Linked DNA regions of Homo sapiens: region 2 is linked to region 1. The links are contacts of gene promoters, found by promoter capture Hi-C in blood cells and fetal thymus (Javierre and others, 2016). All regions are on one chromosome and are shown on one strand. Each heading gives the region's core, a stretch centred on a gene start or on the middle of the fragment in contact. The rest is flanking DNA. Distances are from core to core; before and after follow the strand shown. Region 1 holds the start of SHOC1 (shortage in chiasmata 1). Region 2 has its middle 23 kb from the start of HSDL2.

Region 1 (6,856 bases), core at 1,162-3,661:
TGGGAGGTGGAGGTTGCAGTGACCCAAGATCACACCACTGCACTCCAAACTGGGCAACAGAGCCAGACTCTATCTCAAACCAAAAACAAAAACAACCCAGAGCACAATTATTTTATTTGTTTAATGACTCAGAAGGATTTTTGGATATTACAATATGTTTTCCAATTAAAATGAGACAAATATGTTATCTGAATTGTCTTTAATATTGTTAGATTCTGTGGTGTGGAGAATATATAGTGTGGCCACCCTCTTTCACTCTTAAACAGGACCAACGTGGGCATTATTTTACTGGTGGTTACTTTTCTGAGAATATTTCCAATCATTGCACCTCTATGTCTTTTCCACCCAGTGTATCACTGATCTTTTTTTTTTTTTGAGACGGAGTCTCGCTCTGTCCCCCAGGCTGGAGTGCAGTGGCCGGATCTCAGCTCACTGCAAGTTCCGCCTCCCAGGTTCACGCCATTCTCCTGCCTCAGCCTCCTGAGTAGTTGGGACTATAGGCGCCCGCCAACACGCCCGGCTAATTTTTTGTATATTTAGTAGAGACAGGGTTTCACCGTGTTAGACTGGATGGTCTCGATCTCCTGACCTTGTGATCCGCCCGTCTCGGTCTCCCAGAGTGCTGGGATTACAGGCGTGAGCCACCGCGCCCGGCCTGTCACTGATCTTTCAAGCAAATATTGATTCTAGAACTTCCATTTCTTGGTGTTGCACTTTCAGAAAAAACTGATTGTCTCATTCTAAAAGCCATTGCAAAAAGTTAACAACAAACTCAACTTTACTGACTTTACCCATTCAGCTTATTGTCAGCATTTATATTAACTTTTCTTTTCTTGTGAAGCCTAGTATTTCTATCACTCTCACCAATTACCTTAAGAAATAATTACTTTTGTATTGAAGTCAACCACTGAAATTCATGCTAAATATGTACTACTTAATAAGATGCCATATGTTATATACATGCTTAGAATCCCGTTTATCAAGTTTATTTCATTGTAATACAGATATCGAATCCATCTAATAGTGGTGGGTGGAAGCAAAAACGATACATTGCTCTTATTTCTAAAACCAAAGATATGAGGAAATGAACAAAATCATGGTTAGAGAGAGGGTAATTTAAAATTATCAAGTTTTGAATTGCAGCAATTCTCGAATTTTTTTTTTTTTTACCTTTTTCTAAAGATTTTATTTCTTTTGTGCTACTTCCTAACAAACATCTACTGGACTACTGGACCAAAATGGAAATGCACACGATAATGAGGTCAGGCACAAGGCCAGGAAGTAAGCTTTCCCAAGATGATGATGATGATGATGATGATTTAATTAATTAATCAAATAATTTTTTGAGACAGAGTCTCCCTCTGTCCCCAGGCTGGAGTGCAATGGTGCGATCTTGGCTCACTGCAACCTCCAGCTCCCGGGTTCAAGCGATTCTCCTGCCTCAGCCTCCCGAGTAGCTGGGATTACAGGCGGGTGCCACCATGCCCGGCTAATTTTTGTATTTTTAATAGAGACGGGGTTTCGCCATGTTGGCCAGGCTGATTTCGAACTCCTGAGCTCAGGCAATCCTCTCGCCTCAGCCTCCCGAAGTGCTGGGATTACAGGCCTGAGCCACCATATGCCAGGCCCCAAGATTATTTAAAAGCACTCACAGGTGAGTGTGAATCTTCGGGCTGGCTTCCCACCTCTCCCCACCAGCCTAAGGCATCAGGAGCTTTCTGCCTTCTTCACTCCCTCGCATAAAAACCCACTTAAAAAAAAAAAAATAATAAGATCCGCCGGAAGTGGTGGCTCACACCTGTAATCCCAGCACTTCGGGAGGCCGAGGCGGGTGGATCACTTGAGGTCAGGAGTTCGAGACCAGCCGGGTCAACATGGCAAAACCCCGTCTCTATTAAAAATATAAAAATTAGCCAGACGTGGTGGAGGACGCCTGTAGTCCCAACTACTCTGGAGGCTGAGGCAGGAGAATCTCTTGAACTCGGGAGGCAGAGGTTGCAGTGAACCGAGATCGTGCCACTGCACGCCAGCCTGGGCAACAGAGCGAGACCCTGTCTTAAAACAGACAAAAAAACGTAACATGGCAGAGAAGGCGAGGTGCACCTATTTTCCCTTATTGTTTAGCCCATACAACTTCTAGTTGATGGGCTGAAATCCCACCAGCATCTCTGAGACCTTCACACCTTCTATTCTCAGGTTAAGTGGACAGTGGGTCTGGGGTTTTGTCTCTACAGAGCCACATCGGCCGGGCCTCACAGATGCGTTTTCCAGAGATTCCTGAGCTGCCATACTTCTTTGGTCCCATACGACCTTTTCCTCCCCTCAGCCCTCAAAATCACCCTCTCTCCTGCCTCCAGCCTCTCAGGGCTCTTACCTGAGGTAAAAATCGCCTCCTGCATCTCTTCCTGGGGTAAAATTCCCGCCCGCTGGACACGTGACCACTGAGCCTGCACTCTGTGCTTCCATTGGCCAGACCAGGCCCCGCCCCTTGGGCTCCGGGCACTTCCGTCCGCGAGTGGGCACAGCCTAGGGAGGTAAGGATTGTGGGGATTCGAGGCTGCAGCCTGGGCAGCGCCGAGGTCCTCGGGAGTGAGCAGAACCCTCATAACACTGGGCGGAGTGTGACGGTGGAGAAGTCGGCGTGAGGCTAGAAAGAGCTGGTTGTGAAGGGTTGGGAAGACCCGGCAAAGCAGTCCGGACTTCTTTGGGAGTGGCGGCTCCCATGTTGTTAGCGAGGCCGGGCAAAACGCGGCAGGGTTAGCCGGAGGGCGAGGGCAGAAGCCTTTCAGAGGTAAGGGTGGGAGGATTTAGCAATCAGACAGATTCAGGGAAAGAGGAAGGCAAGAGAGAGGAGGCAAACGTGCCTCAGGGGTCTGGCTAGGTGTGGGTCATGGCTTGGTAGCAGAAGAACTTTTGAGGAGGGGCAGGAAGATACTGCTTTTCAATTGGCACATGTGGATTCTATACCTTAATTAAAGCCACTCCCTTACATACACACATTTAGGTATCGCCAGACTCGCCTGATGAGGAATAATTATTCTTTCCTCCATATTTCTTAACTCCTGTCTTTTCCATGAAACGGCTTGGCATTAAACTCCTTCCCAGAAGATTGCAAGAAGTAACATGCATTTATTTACTTTACTAACACATGGGTGTCTTTTGAGTTGATTGTTCAAATACTAATTGTGAAATGTCAGTGGATAAGTCACTTTATTTTCTTAAGTTACTTCCTTTATTTTGTACAGGTGTGTGCAGTTTGCTTCGGTTATATGGATTTAATGTTTGACAATAATCAGTTTTAAAGATATTCACCTAACATTGAAGTGCATTAATCATCCTGTGTTCTTGGATGTCTACCTTTTATTAAAATCAATTTTAAATTAAATATCTTTGTAAAAGTTACAAAAATTGGCCGGGCCTGGTGGCTCACGCTGTAATCCCAGCATTTTGGGAGGCTGAGGTGGGTGGATCACCTGAGGTCAGGAGTTCGAGACCAGCCTGGTCAACATGGTGAAACCTCATCTCTACTAAAAATACAAAAAAAAAAAAAAAAAAAAAAATCAGCCGGGTGTGGTGGCATGCCCCTGTAATCCCAGCTACTTGGGAGGCTGAGGCAGGAGAATCGCTTGAACCCGGAGGCGGAGGTTGTAGTGAGCCGAGATCATGCCACTGCATTCCAGCCTGGGGGACAGAGCAAGATTCCGTATCAGAAACAAACAAACAGAAAAACCAACAACAAAAAAAACCAAAAAACAAAAATAACACATGCTTATCCTTACTATAAACAGGAAAACCATCCAAAGATGTATACAGAGAAAGTAATCGCCATTCCCACCCCAACTCCCAGGTAACCAATATTAACAATCTGGGTTGATTCTTTTCACACTTTGTTGTATGTTCATACAAATTTATTCAGATATGCATGTACAACGTTGATTGGCTAATTATATTTAAAAATTATTACTTTTAAAAATAGCTGCATAATATTTTATAGTAACTACGTGCCATGATTTATCTAAACATTCCACTACTGATGGATTAACAGATTGTTTCCAATTTTTTGGAAACAATGACAAATAATGCTGCAGTAAGAATTCTTGGACATATGCTCTTGAATACTTTCTGTGGCATAGATTTGTTTTGGCTTGCTGGCTGAAATTGTAAGAGCATTTCAAATTTAATAAATATTGCCAATTTTTCCTTCCAAAAATGTATAGCAGTTTACATTAACAATACCAGAAAGGGGTCATCATTCTCCTGAATACCCAACAGTACTGAATATATTGCTCTTTAGAAATTTTTGCCAGGCTGATGCATGAAAAATTCTATCTTGTTTTAGTTTGCATTTCTCTGACTACTGCTGAGATTAAACATGTTTTAGATGTTTATGAATCCTTTGGATTTCTTCTTCCATGAATTGTCTAATTATGCATGTGGCTGTGTATGTGTGTATATGTGTATGCATCTGTATGTTTGTGTGTGTATGAGATCAAGTGATTTTCCTATTGGGTAGGTTGTCTTTTTGAAAATCTAGTGTAAAGGTGCATTAGTTAAAATCAGGCCTAGCTGTATAAATAACAGAAAATTCCAAAATAATATTAAATATATTTCTCTTTCATGTAAATGAAGTCCAGAGGTACAAAGGTTAAGGACTGATATGGCAGCTCTGCCCCACTAAGTCCTCTGGGTCTTAACTTCCTACCAGCTCATTTTTCTGCTATTTCTGTGTAGTGGTCCTTGTTTTCATGGTCTCAGGTGGCAGCTTCTGTTTCAGGAAGCAGGATGGAGGAAGGACTGTAAAGGAACAAAGGCCAAAGGCACAATGTCTCTTTATATATATGTAACTTAAATTGTAAAATATAATGTTCACATAGAAATATAATGTTTACACAGAAACTGTACCACAATGTATAGTTATAAAAATTATTTTAAGGAAATGTCCATGGAGCCTCCCCTCAAGTGAAGAAACAGAGCATTGGAATTTCAGAAGCCCGCTTTTCCTTTCTAATCACAACTCTCCCTAGAGGAAGTCTCCCTCTAGACCTAGAGATTACTATAATTCTGACTTTATGGTAATCATTGCCTTGCTTTTCTTTAAAGTGTTTCACCCAAGTATGCATTTCTAAATGACATAGTTTGCCTATTTTTGAATCTTGGTGTTTGTGTTACTTTGGTTCTTGCTTCTTCTATTCAGTGGATGTTTATTGTATATGATGATTCAATTTCATCAATTTCATTCGATGTATTATATATGATGATTTCAGTTATATATGATGATTATTAAATAGGATACAATAGTATCCTGTTGTATAAACATACTTCAATTTATCCATTCAACTGTTGATGGACCTTTGGATTATTCTAATTCTTGTATATTACAAAGAATGCTGCTACAATATCCTTGTACATGTATCCTAGTACACATACATGTTTCTCTGGAATATAGATTTAGGAAAATGTTTTGGATTATTGAGCATACATATCTTCACATTTATTGACTAACACCAAACTGTTTTCCTAAGTGATTATACCGATTCACCCATCAGTAATGTTTAACAGTCTGTACTGCTCTATATCCTCACCAACTCTTAGCAATTTCATACTTGAAAATGTTGAGATCTAGTAGATGTCTAGTTGCAGCAAAGGCTGGAAGATGCAGTGTTCATTCTGAACAGTTATGTGCATAGTTACTATTTGGAAATTCTATTATTAATATAAGAAAAAAACATATATTGGGAAATACACAGCAATCTCTGCCACATTCAGAATACTAACTTAAAAATAGCTGCCAGGCTGGGCACCGTGGCTCACGTGTGTAATCCCAACAATTTGGGAGGCTGAGGCAGGAGGATCACCTGAGGTCAGAAGTTCAAGGACAACCTGGCCAACGTGATGAAACCCTGTCTCTACTAAAAATACAAAAATTAGCCAGATGTGGTGGCAGGTGCCTATAATCCCAGCTACTCAGGAGGCTGAGGCGGGGAGAATCGCTTGAACCCGGGGGCAGAAGTTACAGTGAGCCGAGATTGTACCATTGCACTCCAGCCTGGGCAACAGAGTGAGACTCCATCTCAAAAAAAAAAAAAAAAAAAAATTAACCAAGTGTGGTGGCACGCACCTGTAATCCTAGCTACTTGGGAGGCTGAGGCAAGAGAATCACTTGAACTCTGGGGGGCAGAGGTTACAGTGAGCGAGATCATGCCACTGCACTCCAGCCTGGGTGACAGAGTGAGACTCTGTCTCAAAAAAAAAAAAAGAAAAAAAAGAAAAGAAAAAAAGCTAAATTTTTTTTAGCACTCATTATGTGCCAAGCACTATTCTAAACACTTTGCAACAACTCATAAGCTAGATAAATTTACAAATATTACAAACTCCAGTTTACATAAGAGAAACCTGGGGCATTGACCACTTAAGTCTCTTATCCAAGATGAGCTTGAAAGTATGAGACAGAGTTGCAAATCCAAGTAGCATGACTTCAGAGCCCAAACTCTGAATGAGATCATACACTCTCTAAAAGGAATATTTGCTCTTGAGTCATCCATGTTTTGTAAATGTTTTGTGTTTATTTTGGTGAATTTCTAAAGATAGTTTTCTTTCTATATTTACAGATAATTTTATCATATCCAAATCATGTTTTTTTCTTAGTAGATAATGTTTCTGCATCATTATTTCTAAAATTGTGCATATGATGAGAATCTTAGAACAACTGCTTTTCCCTATAAGTTTTAATTCACCATTATTTGCACCATTGTTATTTTGAACCTAAATGGAAATAAAACAAGTTGAAATAAAACACCCTTCAATATAAACTAAGATGAGGATGGGAAGGAGGAGAAAAATTCCTCTACTGTCCAGA
Region 2 (6,856 bases), core at 1,731-4,230, 560 kb after region 1:
CAGAACAAGACTCTGTCATTAAAAAAAAAATATATATAGATGCTTATAATATTGTAATTGCTATTATAATGGACAAAATAGTTCCTTTTCGGCTATCTGAGACCACATCACTAATAGGAACCATACATTTTATTTTACAACTACAACAAAGCCTTCATTTTGGCTACAAATTCAAACCTCTCCTCTAAATCTTTTGACATATCTGTTCAACAAGGAGCCAGATAGATTGGTTAGGGTATATCTGTTTTATGTTTCCTGATTTGTCTTTAGTGGAAATAATAGCCCTGTGCAAAAAGCAAACCACAGCCCACAAGGTCAGTGGTAAAGCTCTTGGGTTACCAAACAACTGGGTGAAGCTGTTGTTCTCCCGTATCAATATGGTTCTGAAAAATATTTCACTGCAGATGATCCCACAGGGCACTGGCAAATGTTCAGCCTTGAACAGGCAAACAAGCAAAAAGTCAGTAGCAGAAAAACAAAACAAAACAACAAAATACAGCCTGGAAAGCTGCTCTGTGAAGAATATGTTATTTATGTAACTGGAAAAGCAAACCTCCTCTCCATACCACCCCCCTGGGGGTGGAGGATTACTTGTATCAGAGGATAATAAGTCCTCATATTGCCTCTGTTCTGGAGCAGTGGGAGTATGAGACCTTAATCAAGAATTTAATTTAGTAGAGGGTAGTAGGAGGATGACACCTACAAAAATTTAATTTGGCACAGAATAAATACATGGGGTATTTCCAAAGCTTGATCTTGGTGTAGCAAAGCAGTAACAAGAAAGAGAGATGGATAGCTCAATTTGGGGGCCTGATTTTTAAGCTAATTTCAAACATCTTTTTATTTTTTTTAAATGCTTGGTTAGGCACAATCTGAAAACTAGAAGATAAAAAAGAGCTGACATTGTTCTGCAAAATAAAATGCTATCTTGATAGTGAGCAGGGGTAAAGTTACATTGATTATAGGAGTCAAATGTTTCTCTTTCTCAGCGTGGAAAACGTACATGTACTCACAGTGTAATACCGTTTCTCAGAATTAATGCCTGTCTTTGGGAGATGTGGGTGTGTTTAACATAATAGTTATTTACTGGGCACCAGGAGGAATTAGGTGGAAATATCTCCAAGGGAACTGAACTTGGACTACCCACACCCACCGTGGATTTTCTTGCTAGAGCCATATTTTAAATCAAATGAATAATTCAGACCTGAGAAAATGCTTGGCTTGGGAAAAGAGGATGGATCCTGGTATGAGACCAACCCCTGTGAGTGGGGCCTGGAATCTACTGAAAGGAGGAGGGAGATATTAAAGGAAATGTTGAAGAAGGAAATTTGAACAACATCAATGCTCTGAGAAAGAAATGCAGATGTGAAGACAAGGGGCAATAGTAGGGATCCAGGTGTGCTCAAGGCCTTTGCGATGGTTTATATTCTTGTGATAATTTTATCTTCAGACTGAGTATCATTTAAGAGTTAGGTCCAGCTGCATACAACAGAAAACTCAGTAACAAGATAAACTAGATACAAATGTATTTCTCATGCAAAGGAAGTTCAGAAGTAGTGGTTTCAGGGCTGATATGACACTCCATTTCATGTTCATCAAAGACCCGTCTTCTTTTGTTTCCATTACATAAGCATATGGCTTTCATCATTCTTAAGATTACAAAATGGCTAAGAACTCTTTTTCTTTTTTTTTTTTTTTTTTTTGTGGAGGGTGGGTGTTGGGGAGTTGCCCAAGCTGGAGTGCAGTGGCGTGATCACAGCTCACTGCAGGCTTGACCTCCTGGGTTCAAGCAATCCTCAGCCTCCTGAGTAGTTGTGATTACAGGCATGCGCCACCGCGCCTGGCTAATTTTTGTATTTTTTTGTAGAGACAGGGTTTCGCGTTGGCCAGGCAGTCTCAAACTCCTGGACTCAAGCCATCTATCCGGCTTGGGCTCACAAAGTGCTGGGAATACAGGCAGGAGCCACCACACCCCACCTGGAAATAAAAGTTTCTTTCTTTTCTTTTCTTTCTTTCTTTCTCTTTCTCTTTCTCCTTCCTTCCTTCTTTCTTTCTCTTTCTTTTCTTTCCTTCCTTCTTTCCTTCTTCTTTTCCTTCTTCCTTTCTTCCTCCCTCCCTTTCTCTCTCTCTCTCTCTTAGATGGATTCTCCTGCCTCAGCCTCCCAAGTAGCTGGGATTACAGGCGCACACCACCACACCAAGCTAATTTTTTGTATTTTTAGTAGAAACAGGATTTCACCATGTCGACCAGGCCAGTCTAGAACTCCTAACCTCAGGTGATCCACCCGCCTCGGCGTCCCAAAGTACTGAGATTACAGGTGTGAGCCACAGTACCGGACTGGAAACTCTTTAAAGCAGCTTTCCCAGAAGTCCTTCCCAGCATCTTCCACATACGTCTCATAAGCCGTAATTTGGTCATGTGGCCATCCCTGGCTGTAAAAGTGGCTGGGAGGTGCAGTGTTTTTGCTGGTTATATTGTCACCTCTAAAAATAATGTTGGTAAGAAGTAGTGGGTAAGCCACTAGCAGTCTGTGTGACATAGCAGTTGTCATATAGTTAAGATTTTTTTCTCTTATGCAATAATTCCACAACTCTTTGGTGAAGAGTTGTGTGGGGCTGGTGTGGTACATAAAGCAACAGAGCAAAAAAAAAAAATGGTGAAATACAGCTTGATCCATGTAGTCACTCCGCTGCTTGTGCTCATATAAGGGAGCAATTGTCTACTGAGGGAATTGTTTTCTAGAATTCCAGGTATCTAGCTCCAAGTTGAGGAAAACCCACAGTGTACTTTGGAGCAGTGGGATTGTCAGAGATATAAGGGAAAGACTCAAGAGGCTTTTGAGACAATTGCGTGTGCGCACACACACACACACACACACACACACAATTTGGCCCCAACCATTTCATTTCAGAGCAGGTGTATATTCATTTCCCTCTTTTTTTTTTTTTTTTTTTTTTGAGACAGAGTTTCACTCTTGTTGCCCAGGCTGGAGTGCAATGGCGTGATCTCAACTCACTGCAACCTCCACCTCCCAGGTTCAAGCGATTCTCCTGCCTCAGTCTCCCGAGTAACTGGGATTATAGGCACCCGCCACCACACCCGGCTAATTTTTTTGTATTTTTAGTAGAGACGGGGTTTCACCATGTTGGTCAGGCTGGTCTCGAACTCCTGATCTCAGGTGATCCGCCCACCTCAGCCTCCCAAAGTGTTGAGATTACAGGCATGAGCCACCGCACCCGGCCTCCCTCTACCTTTTAATACTTCATACTAAGACGTGGAAATTCTCTTGCATAACCCAGCAGAGTTGTCAAATCAGGAAATTCATTACTGATACAATACTTTAATCTCTACTGCATATTCCAATTTGTTAATTTCCAGTAGTGTTCTTTTTGTGTTGTTGTTGTTGTTGTTTTGTTTGTTTGTTTTTTCTGAGCAGGGTCTTGCTCTGTCATCCAGGCTGGTGTGCAGTGGTGCAATCACAGCTCACTGCAGCCTCGACCTTCCTGGGCTCAGTTGATCCTCTTACCTCAGCCTCCTGAATAGCTGAGACTACGCGCAGGCAGCCATGCTTACTAATTTTTGTATTTTTTATAGAGACAGGGTTTTATCATGTTGCCCAGGCCGGTCTTAAACTCCTGGGTTCAAGCAATCTGCTAGACTCAGCTTCCCAAAGTGTTGGGATTACAGGTGTGAACCACTGCACCCAGCCTGCCAATAGTGTTCTTTATAGCAATTTTTTTTTTCTATACAGGAACCAGTTCAGGATTATGTGTTGCGTTGAATTGTCATTTCTTCTTTATTGCAGCTTCTTAGACTTTCTTTCTATTTTTTTATGACATCGACATTTTTGACTTCTTATTCACCTTGGAGAAGGTGTAAACAACTGGAGCAATTTTGCCTCCAGAGGACATTTGGCAATTTCCAGAGACATTTTTGGTTGACAAAACTGGAAGAGTTGGAGATAGATGGGGTGATGGTTGCACAACAATGTAAATGTACTTAATGCCGTTGAACTGTACACTTCAATATAGTTAAAATGGTAAATTTTATGTTAGGTATGTTTTACAAAAATAAACAAAAAAATTTGGCCAGGCGCGGTGGCTCATGCCTGTAATCCCAGCATTTTAGAAGGCCAAGGCAGGTGGATCATCTGAGGTCGGGAGTTCAAGACCAGGCTGGCCAACGTGATGATACCCTGTCTCTACTAAAAAAAATAAAAAATTAGCTGGGCGTGGTGGCAGGTGCCTTTAATCCCAACTACCCAGGAGGCTGAGGCAGGAGAATTGCTTGAACGTGGGAGGCAGAGGTTGCAGTGAGTAGATACCATGCCACTGTCCTCTAACCTGGGAGACAGTGAGACTCTGTCTCAAAAAAACAAAAACAAACTGGAAGGAGGGTGCCACTGATGCTACTGGCATGTAGTGGGTACAGACCAAGAATGCTGCTAAACATACTCTAATGCACATGACAGCCTCCCACAAAAAATGATTATCCAACCCAAAATGTCAATAGTGCCACGGCTGAGAAATCCTGGTATGAATTATTAGCATAACCTTGCTAAAGGGTATTAAGTGTGTATATCCTCTGAGCAAACAGTCCCAGTTCTAGAAATGTATTCTATGGAGATATGACTAGTGAGCAATGATGTATACACAAAGGCTTTTTATGGCAAATACCATTCATAATAAAGACAAATTTTAAAACCACTTAAATGTCTATCATAACAGCCAGGAAAGTTGGCATGAACCTGTAGTCCCAGCTACTCACTTGAGGCCAAGAGTTCAAGTCCAGCCTGAACATCATAGCAAGACCTCATCTCCAGAAAAAAATGTCAATCACAAATGAGAATGGTAAAATCAATTTGGAGTACATTCACAAAAAGGAAAATGATGCATCTTCTTTTTGGGGGGCACTGGAGCAGGGACAGAGTCTTGCTCTGTTACCCAGGCTGCAGTACAGTGGCACAATCACTATAGCCTCGACCTCCTGGGCTCAAGCGATCCTCCCACCTCAATCTCCTGAGTATATGGGACCACAGGCATGTGCCACTATGCCTAGCTAAAATTTTTATAATTTTTTGTAGAGACAGTCTCCCAATATTGCCCAGGCTGGTCTCAAACGCCAGGACTCAGGGAATCTCCCATCTTAGCCTCTCAAAGTGCTGGGATTACAGGTGTGCGCCACTGCACCTGACCGCATCTACTTTTAAGAAAAGCTTTAGGCTGGGCGCGGTGGCTCATGCCTTAATCCCAGCACTTTGGGAGGCCGAGGTGAGCGGATCACCTGAGGTCAGGAGTTTGAGACCAGCCTGGCCAACGTGGTGAAACCCCATCTTTACTAAAAAATAGAAAAAAAAAATTAGCCGGGTATGATGGCGGGAACCTGCAGTCCCAGATACTTGGGAGGCTGAGGCAGAGAATAGCTTAACCCCAGGAGGCAGAGGTTGCAGTGAGCTGAGATCGCGCCACTGCACTCCAGCCTGAGCGACAGAGCAAGACTCTGTCTCAAAAAGAAAAAAAAGTTTTAGATGTAAACGTGGAAAGATGTTTATAATATACTAGGTAAGCCAAAGACAGGTTTCAGGCTGGGCACGGTGGCTCACACCTGTAATCCCAGCACTTTGGGAGGCCTAGGCAGGTGGATCACCTGAGGTCGGGAGTTCAAGACGAGCCTGGCCAACATGTTGAAACCCCGTCTCTACAAAAATTCAAAAATTAGCTGGGCATGGTGGCAGGTGCCTGTAATCCCAGCTACTCTAGAGGCTGAGGCAGAAGAATCACTTGAACCCGGGAGGCGGAGGTTGCCGGGAGGCGGAGGTTGCCGTGAGCCGAGATCGTGCCATTGCACTCAAGCCTGGGTGACAGGGCGAGACTCCATCTCAAAAAATAAAAACAAAACACCAAAAAAAAAACAAGTTTCAAAACAATACAATATACACATAATCTCACCATGCTTAAAAACTATAAAAATTAATGTAAAGATTTCAAAGTCTTAGACACATGCCAAATGTTAACATGATTATCTCTGAAGGGTAGTATTAAAGAGGAACTTTCAGTTTCTCTAGCTTGTTGGAATCATGAATCAGAAATATATAGACATTAAAATGCAATAATCAGGTTAATATCCAACAGTTACTAATTAAATAATGACTGGCAATAATTCATGGAGCAAGAAAAGGCACAGCTCGGAGTTCTACGCAGAAGGCTTGGTACATTATCAGAAGCAACTACCACCCCTAAAACCCAAAGGAATTTTTTTTTCCAAGACAGGGTCTTGCTCTGTTGCCCAGGCTGGAGTGCAGTGATGCACTTACAGCTCACTGGAGCCTAAAACTCCTGGGCTCAAGCAGTGCTCCCACCTCAGCCTTCTAAGGACCTGGGACTACAAGCATGCACCACCACACCTGGCTTAATTTTTAAATTTTTTTTTGTAGAATCAGGGTGTCACTGTTGCCCAGGCTGGTCTCATACTCCTGGGCTCAAGTGATCCTCCCACCTTGGCTTCCTAAAGTGTTACGATTACAGGCATGAGGTACAGTTTCTGGCTCACAAGGATTTCTCAGGTGATTCTGAGACAGGGTGAGCTGTCTTGTGGGTAAAGGAAATGGAAATTTTTAAGAGATGTGGGACTCTCTCAAAGCCATTGAAATCATCTGCTCTGAGTCACATTATATTGTTGTTGGCCTCTGACCATCAATTTGTAACATTATTTTTCACTGGAGAAGCCTAAAACATCTTAAAACTCAAATGGAAAAATTTCAATGGCAAGTTATAATACGACTAACAGTAGGTTACGATCCATTAATGAGTCACCAAACTTATTTAGTAGGTTAGAATCAACTTTTTTTTTTTAACA

The links. Contacts are between HindIII fragments. The CHiCAGO score rates a contact against its expected background, and 5 or more counts as called.
Region 2: a contact is called between a fragment that was not itself captured here and the fragment with the promoter of SHOC1 in region 1, in 5 of 17 cell types (endothelial precursors, M2 macrophages, total CD4 T cells and 2 more). The highest score is 7.1, in endothelial precursors.

The regions. Positions count from the first base shown.
Region 1 is chr9:111,792,526-111,799,381 of GRCh38, forward strand. SHOC1 (shortage in chiasmata 1) reads right to left here and starts at 2,412. Exons shown (of 28, transcript NM_001378211.1): 1 at 2,375-2,412. LOC124902249 (a long non-coding RNA gene) reads left to right here and starts at 3,693. Exons shown (of 2, transcript XR_007061734.1): 1 at 3,693-3,847. The HindIII fragment of the contact is 10,914 bases long and covers 1,285-6,856 here.
Region 2 is chr9:112,353,939-112,360,794 of GRCh38, forward strand. It overlaps a transcript of PTBP3 not described here. Among named protein-coding and RNA genes, the nearest start is that of HSDL2, 23 kb to the right of the region's middle. The HindIII fragment of the contact is 4,467 bases long and covers 748-5,214 here.